Linked DNA regions of Homo sapiens: all the other regions are linked to region 1. The links are contacts of gene promoters, found by promoter capture Hi-C in human tissues and cell types (Jung and others, 2019). All regions are on one chromosome and are shown on one strand. The core of a region is centred on a gene start or on the middle of the fragment in contact, and the rest is flanking DNA. Distances in the headings are between cores, read along the strand shown.

Region 1 (2,700 bases), core at 132-2,631:
CTAAGGAACCTCCTGCCGAGTTCCTTGCTAGCTGCTCGCTCGCAGCGTGGTCCTCGGCCCCGACGCGCGCTTTCGAGCTTGTTCCGCAGCGGGCGCTGAAGAGAGGCGGCCGCGTCCGGACGCTCTGATGCGGTTGCGTACGTTTTCAGCGCTTCCCGCTCTCCACCGGTTGGACTGAGGCTTTTAAACTGCAGTCTGCTCCCGAGTCCGGCTTCCTACTCGGTCTGGTGCCCCCTGGTGCTCGTCCCCTCCACATCTTGAGTAGTTGCGAAGAGCACAGGGGTCCAGGCAGACAAGGATGCTTTCAAGAAAAACATTCCATGGCGGCAAGCCGCATGGATCCACATTTCCCGGGCCCAGAGCCTTTGTAGACATTGCATGTGGACATTCAGGAGCTCTAGAGAAAGAGGGGGTGTTGTTTCACGAAGCCACCAGCAGAAGAAAGGTGGAAAATAAGTTTCAACCAACTACAAAGGCAGAAGTCAGCCCAGCCCCCCAAGTGTGGTCAAAGACCCATAGATCCGTAGACCTTATCTTTTCTTGAATCCACCGCTCCCCCAACCCCCCTTTTATTATTTTTCAGACAAAGCAAAGATAGAGTTCACTAGGATCCCCGATTTCAGTAAGGCAGCCCTTTTTTGAGAGCCAGAATATCCGTCTCGGCCGGGAGCTGAGAATGTGGCCTTAATTGATGAGGGGAGGAGGATGGAAGGTAATCCTCCGTGTCTCCTCCTCCAATCCGTTTAATCAATATTAATTTCATGCACAATCTTCACAAAGTTTCTTTTCCCCTCCTCCGACTCAGAGCTCAGGCTCCGGTTATCCTGCTTTGCCCTTCCCTTCCACCCTCACAGCCCTGCAGTCACTCAACACTACTGAGGCTCTCTCCATTAAAGATGAACAACAGATCATTTTTCATTGCATGGCAACCCTAAGAGCTCTCTAGCTTAGCAGAGCATGATGGGAGTCTTTCCATCCCCCCCCCCACCCCCCGCCCGCTCGTTCCTCTTCTTTTTTTTTTTTTTTTCCTTCCTTTCCTTCTTCCACAATTAATCCCTAAATAATGATTTTCCTAAGCTCGCGCGGACTTCGGGATGGGGTTGAGCGACCCGTGATGACGCTCCCATCAGCCTTTCAGAAGGGACGGTTTCCAAAGAAAACTACAACTCCCACGAGGCATTAGGCTACAGCAACCGCAAGGCATCACGGAAGTCGTAGGCACTTTTCTTCTAGGTCCCGTTCATCCCCGCCAACCCGTAAACTATAAGTCCCAGGGTGCCTCGGGGCTAGCACGCCTGCGCAAAAGCCCCGGAGCGAGTTGGGGGGTGGGGCTGCTCCGGGCGGCGGGGGGCGGGATCCGAGCGGGCTGTGTGGAGGCTTCAGACTCCCGGCGCCATTTAGCGCGGAGAGTTTCCCGGGTGGACGCGGCTCCTCTCTCGGCCACTCCGCACCCCCATCTTCGGTGACAGAAGGCGCCTGGTGGGGGTGGCTGCTCTTTTCTCTCCCTGTTCCCCCTCACCCAGTCCTCTAGGTCTCCTCTCCTCTTGCCTCAGAGAAGCAGCGGAGCTCGGGCCCCGCGGTGAGCGGCCCTCCCCTCCCCGCCGTTCCCTCCTCCGTCAGCCCCCGGCACCGGCCCGGGAGGAGACGGGTTTGCCAGGCCTGGGGCGGGCGGGGAGGCCTCGGGGAAGGGGGGGCCCGCTCCTCAGGCGCCGAGGCTCCGAGGCTCCGGCCCTTCGCCTCTGGGCGATGGGCGACCTGTGAGGCCGGTCCCCATCGCTGGGGGCGCGTGTGGGAGGAGGCGGCCGCCCGAGTGACCGGGAGCCGGGCCGCGGCCTTCCCTCGCCCGCCTCGGCCCCTCCCACTCCTCTGCCCCGGGGCCGCCACCGCCCGGGCGTCGGACCTGGTCCCGTGCTCGCGGTGCCGCCGCCCTCTGGGCCTAGCCCGCCCAGCTCGGCGAGCGGCGGCAGTGGGAGCCGCGTCCGCCGCATCCGCCTCGACTCGGTGCCGGCCCCTGGCCCTCCCCTCATGACTGCGGCGCCTCTGCTGCCACCGCCCGCCCGGCCGCCGCTCGCCGCAGGATGGATGCGGACCGTGCGGCGCTAACCCCCGTGGCTCAGCTCCCGAATCGCCCGCCTTCGAGCCCTCCTCGTGAGCCGCAGCAGCCTCGGTGCCAGCCCCCGCCGCAGCTGGGCCCAGCGGTCCGCCTGTCCCTCGTTGCGGCTTGTCGGTGCTGAGTGAGGCGTCGTCCGGGTCGGCGCGAACCCGCCCGGCCGCGGTTCCCTGCAGACCTCTGCGCGGGCGGCTCGGCCCTTCACGCCCTTTTCGTTCACGAATCCGAGCCCGCTCGCCTCTCTCCAGCGAACCGACCATGTCTGGCGGCGCCGCAGAGAAGCAGAGCAGCACTCCCGGTTCCCTGTTCCTCTCGCCGCCGGCTCCTGCCCCCAAGAATGGCTCCAGCTCCGATTCCTCCGTGGGGGAGAAACTGGGAGCCGCGGCCGCCGACGCTGTGACCGGCAGGACCGAGGAGTACAGGCGCCGCCGCCACACTATGGACAAGGACAGCCGTGGGGCGGCCGCGACCACTACCACCACTGAGCACCGCTTCTTCCGCCGGAGCGTCATCTGTGACTCCAATGCCACTGCACTGGAGCTTCCCGGCCTTCCTCTTTCCCTGCCCCAGCCCAGCATCCCCGCGGCTGT
Region 2 (2,700 bases), core at 192-2,691, 360 kb after region 1:
ATATTTTGGTGGAAAGGGTCTAATTTGGTTTATGGAAACCATATATTGGCTAGAGGGAAGGTTGATCAATAACTTCCTTTTTAAAATAGCTACTATTAGTAATTTCTGCATTGAGTCAGACAACAGGCTAAGCACATTTCACGCTTTATTTTACTGAATCCATAAACAGTACAGTGGCATTCGTATAATTTCTCCTTATTACTAATTAGGAAACTGATTAGGAAAGTAATTATTCAGGGACACATAGCTAGCTTAGTTCTGATAGGTGAATGTCTGCAAAGCCTTGTGCTCCTAAGCTTTGTATTATATTTGCTTCCCCTTTATAATGTCTTCCCTTCTCAGTCTTTAAGGAAAATTTGTGCTTCTAAACTCTGCTTTTCTTTTCTTTTTTTCTTTTTCTTTATTTTTTTGAGACAGAGTCTTTCTCTGTCGCCAGGCTGGAGTGCAGTGGCGAGATCTCGGCTCACTGCAACCTCTGACTCCCTGGTTCAAGCGATTCTCCTGCCTCAGCCTCCTGAGTAGCTGGGATTACAGGCATGCGCCACCATGCCCAGCTGATTTTTGTATTTTTAGTAGAGATGGGTTTCACTATGTTGGCCAGGATGGTCTTGATCTCCTGACCTTGTGATCCACCCGCCTCGGCCTTCCAAAGTGCAATGATTACAGGCGTGAGCCACTGCACCCGGCCTAAACCCTGCTTTTCATTTAAAATATTTTCTTTTCTTTCTTAGTCTTTAAGGTCAATATAGCATTATTTGAAGCTTACTTAATAATGCAGATGATGACGAAACAGATTTTTATATTTATTTTTGACCACGTGATTGGAGGTAGCTGGAAATTTGAATAATCTTAGTCATAGTTCTTTAGCTGAGAAAATGGTAACACTTTGAACATCCCCCAAAATATTCATTCATACAACAAATGTGTTTTTGTTACAATCAGTGTGTTAGGGAATGGAATAGTGTTAATGGGTTGTTTTTATTGGTGAAGGGATATCATAAAAGACTCCACGTTGTTACAGTGTGTGCTAACTCTTGGGTACATACTATTTTGCAGGATGAATATAGCCACCGTTTAAAATTATCTTCCACTGATGTTTTTAGTATCCTCAGGTACTTTGTATACAATAAGCATACAGAAATATTTGTTGAATGAATGAATAACTATATCTCTAAAAAGAGATTTTATGCATATGAGAAAAATACTTAATCTTTTTTGAAACAGAAGGCTAAATTGGAAATTTATTTTTGGTGTTCCTCAAAGGTCTAATTTTAATTAATGTGAAATTTATTTCTTCATGGGAAATTGTTCTCAAAAGCTTTATCCCTTATACCTAAGATTATTACAATTACAATACTTTAGATACATTCAAGTTTTTGAAAATGAAAAGATAACTTTTTGTTTCATCAGTGACACCGAAATTACTGACTTGTCAAATGTATACTTCCAATAATTAGTATCTTTTTTAGTTCCTTGTTAGGTGGTAGACATAATTTAAAAGGAGATGTAATTTCTGTTTACATGGCTTCCATTTAGGGTAAAAAACTATTTTTAAAATTCTTAGAAAACAGGAATGTAAAGAAGGTGTTAGAAAGAAAATACTTTCAATGTTAAGAGAGAAATTAATCAATACACATAACATCAAATTATAGGATTTTACAAAACCATGTTATGTATAACATTAAAAGTGGCTTTTTAAGATAAGAATTTTATGCAAACTTTTGAGAATGAAAAAGATAACAGTGAAAAATTAGCACAACAGCAGCAGATTTTGAATTTTAAATAGTACTAGGAGGTTTCTAAAACCTTTTTTGTTATATCTGCACTCATCCTGCATTTGATCCATCATGTTCTGAAGAGGTCTCACCTAGAAAAATGAAAACCATTTCATCAGTACAGTGGTGTTCAGTTGCTTACTGCTGTCTCATAGTCATCTAATTGAATTGGAATTTCCTTTCCCTCCATTCCCTTTCTAAGAGGTTTCAAAGAATATTTAGAAGACACAATAAATGAAAACTGGACATTTCCCTATTGGTTGAATAAGTTTAGTGGTTTTTTTTGGCTCAGGGTTGGGGAGATCCAAGGTTATGTCATGCAAAAAGATGAATATGACCTATCACACAGTTCGTGCTGCATTTAGTTTCATATTTTGTGACTCAGATCTGTGAAAGATACAGATAAGAGGTGTTTGTTTTATTTCTTTTTTCCTTAAAGTGTTTTACTTCTTTTCTAGATTGGCCAGGTGAAACAGGAGCTGTCCAGAAAGGACACAGAACTACTCGCCCTGCAGACAAAGCTAGAAACACTCACAAACCAGTTCTCAGATAGTAAACAGCACATTGAAGTGTTGAAGGAGTCCTTGACTGCTAAGGAGCAGAGGGCTGCCATCCTGCAGACTGAGGTAGAAACAATTCTGGGATTTGTGGGGAGTTGGTTTCTTGGCACCTTTTCATAAGCGTTACCTGTGCTGTTTTTGTTATGTTTAGAATTGGGAAATATGAGTAATGTTATGATTAATTCTTCAGCAGCGTGATCAGTCACTGTGCTAAAATGTAACCATCTTATTTCAGTTGTTCTTAGATCTAACAAGTTAAAACAGGTGCAGTTTATGTTTTTAATTCTTTAAACTTTTGCCAAGTCTGTACTTCAAAGTATACTCTGACAGTATTAAAAATAAAAGGATAATTGTAAAAGAGAAAT
Region 3 (2,700 bases), core at 55-2,554, 410 kb before region 1:
AGACATGGGACACAGAAAACAGCAAAATGGGAGACATAAATCAACCATAGCAATAATTACATTAAACGTAAACAGACTAAACAATCAAAAAGCAACTGTCAGCTTAGGAAAAAAAGCAAGATCCAATTATATGCTATCTACAAGAGACACACTTCAGATTCTGAGACACAAACAGCTTCAAAATAAAAGAATGGAAAAAGATACACCAAGCAAACAGTAACCATAATAAAGCTACAGGGGCTATACTTTTATTTATATATCCTCTGTACTATGCAACTTTATCATGTGCAACTCTTTTAACAGGAGATAAATTATTGCCAATTATAGGGGGAAAGAAAAAGTGTCAAGAATCAAAGTAAAGAGAAAAGAAATGAATTACCATCTCAATTCAGCTTTACAAATACAGGTCATCTCCTACGTGATAGAACTGTATGTATATGTTACACTTTAAACACATATTTGACAATCTACCCACTCAGGTGTTGAAGGAAACTTATTTCTGGACCTACCAATAAAATGTGTTTTTTTTTTCCTCTTGGAGACAGAGTCTTGCTCTGTCGCCCAGGCTGGAGTGCAGTGGCATGATCTCGGCTCACTGCAACCTCCGCCTCCCACGTTCAAGTGATTCTCCTGCCTCAGCCTCCAGAGTAGCTGGGATTACAGGCAAGCGCCACCACGCCCAGCTAATTTTTGTATTTTTTTAGTAGAGACAGGGTTTCACCATGTTGGCCAGCCTGGTCTCTAACTACTGACCTCAAGTGATTCACCTGCCTCGGCCTCCCAAAGGGCTCGAATTACAGGCATGGGCCACCGTGCCTGGCCTAAAATGTGATTTAAAAAAAAAAAAAAAAAAACCTGGGGAGGGGCGTTCCAAGATGGCCAAATAGGAACAGCTCCGGCCTACAGCTTCCAGCGTGCTCAACGCAGAAGACGGGTGATTTCTGCATTTCCAACTGAGATACCTGGATCATTCACTGGGACTGCTTGGACAGTGGGTGCAGCCCACAGAGGGCTAGCTGAAGCAGGGCGTGCATCACCTCACCCTGGAAGAACAAGGGGTCAGAGGATTTCCCTTTCCTAGCCAAGGGAAGCCATGACAGACTACCTGGAAAAACGAGGCACTCCCGCCCAAATACTGCAATTTTCCCAAGGTCTTAGCAACTGGCAGACAAGGTGATTCTCTCCCATGCCTGGCTCCGCAGGTCCCACACCCACAGAGCCTTGCTCACTGCTAGCGCAGCAGTCTGAGATCAATCTGCTGAGGCAGCAGCCTGGCTGGGGGAGGGGCGTCCACCATTGCTGAGGCTTGAGTAGGTAGAAAAAGCACCCTGGAAGCTCAAACTGGGTGGAGCCCACGGCAGCTCAACAAGGCCTACTGCCTCTAGACTCCACCTCTCTGGGCAGGGCATGGCTGAACAAAAGGCAGCAGACAACTTCTGCAGACTTAAACATCCCTGTCTGACAGCTCTGAAGAGAGCACGGCATTTCACCTCTGAGAATGGACAGACTGCCTCCTCGAGTAGGTCCCTGACCCTCATGTAGCCTAACTGGGAGACACCCCTAGTAGGGGCCAACAGACACTTCATATAGACAGCTGCCACTCTGGGACGAAGCTTCCACAGGAAGCATCAAGCAGCAATATTTGCTGTTCTGCAGCCTCCACTGGTGATACCCAGGCAAACAGGGTCTGGAATGGACCTCCAACAAACTCCAACAGATCTGCAGCTGAGGGTCCTGACTGTTAGAAGGAAAACTAACAAACAGAAAGGAATAGTATCAACATCAACAAAAAGGTCATCTATACCAAAACCCCATCTGTAGATCACCAACATCAAAGACCAAAGGTAGATAAAACCACAAAGATGGGGAGAAACCAGAGCAGAAAAGCTGAAAATTCTAAAAATCAGAGTGCCTCTTCTCCTCCAAAGGATGGCAGCTCCTTGCCAGCAATGGAACAAAGCTGGATGGAGAATGACTGATGAGTTGACAGAAGTAGGGTTCAGAAGGTCAGTAAAAACAAACTTCTCCGAGCTAAAGGAGGATGTTCAAACCCATCGCAAGGAAGCTAAAAACCTTGAAAAAAGATTAGACAAATCGCTAACTAGAATAAACAGTGTAGAGAAGACCTTAAATGACCTGATGGAGCTGAAAACCATGGGACGAGAACTTCATTACACATGCACAAGCTTCAATAGCCAATTTGATCAAGTGGAAGAAAGGGTATCAGTGATTGAAGATCAAATTAATGAAATAAAGTGAGAGGACAAGGTTAGAGAAAAAAGAGTAAGAAGAAACAAACAAAGCCTCCAATAAATATGGGACTATGTGAAAAGACCAAATCTACATTTGATTGGTGTACCTTAAAGTGATGGGGAGGATGAAACCCAGTTGGAAAACACTCTTCAGGATATTATCCAGGAGAACTTCCCCAACCTAGCAAGGCAGGCCAACATTCAAATTCAGGAAATACAGAGAACACCACAAAAATACTCCTTGAGAAGAGCAAACCCAAGACACATAATTGTCAGATTCACCAACGCTGAAATGAAGGAAAAAGTGTTAAGGGCAGCCAGAGAGAAAGGTCAAGTTACCCACAAAGGGAAGCCCATCAGACTAACAGCGGATCTCTCGGCAGAAACCCTACAAGCCAGAAGAGAGTGGGGGCCAATATTCAACATTCTTAAAGAAAAGAATTTTCAA

The links. The method cuts DNA at HindIII sites, captures the fragments that hold promoters and counts their contacts. A contact is called where the count stands out against the background at its distance.
Region 2: a contact is called between a fragment that was not itself captured here and the fragment with the promoter of WNK1 in region 1, in 1 of the 25 tissues and cell types used here (mesenchymal stem cells).
Region 3: a fragment that was not itself captured here is called in contact with the fragment with the promoter of WNK1 in region 1 in 1 of the 25 tissues and cell types used here (dorsolateral prefrontal cortex).

Annotation. Positions count from the first base shown.
Region 1 is chr12:751,198-753,897 of GRCh38, forward strand. WNK1 (WNK lysine deficient protein kinase 1) reads left to right here and starts at 1,382. Exons shown (of 28, transcript NM_018979.4): 1 at 1,382-2,700. The coding sequence starts at 2,369. RefSeq lists enhancers at 438-537, 588-637, 1,395-2,113, 2,114-2,700 and silencers at 1,278-1,427, 1,508-1,887, 1,898-2,277. The HindIII fragment of the contact is 16,449 bases long and covers 1-2,700 here.
Region 2 is chr12:1,113,633-1,116,332 of GRCh38, forward strand. ERC1 (ELKS/RAB6-interacting/CAST family member 1) reads left to right here. Exons shown (of 19, transcript NM_178040.4): 7 at 2,234-2,401. LOC124902857 (a long non-coding RNA gene) reads right to left here. Exons shown (of 3, transcript XR_007063157.1): 3 at 1,782-1,867. Among named protein-coding and RNA genes, the nearest start is that of ERC1, 120 kb to the left of the region's middle. RefSeq lists an enhancer at 1,768-2,700. The HindIII fragment of the contact is 4,498 bases long and covers 1-2,700 here.
Region 3 is chr12:341,940-344,639 of GRCh38, forward strand. All of the region lies in intron 10 of KDM5A (lysine demethylase 5A), which reads right to left. Among named protein-coding and RNA genes, the nearest start is that of KDM5A, 46 kb to the right of the region's middle. The HindIII fragment of the contact is 4,192 bases long and covers 1-2,700 here.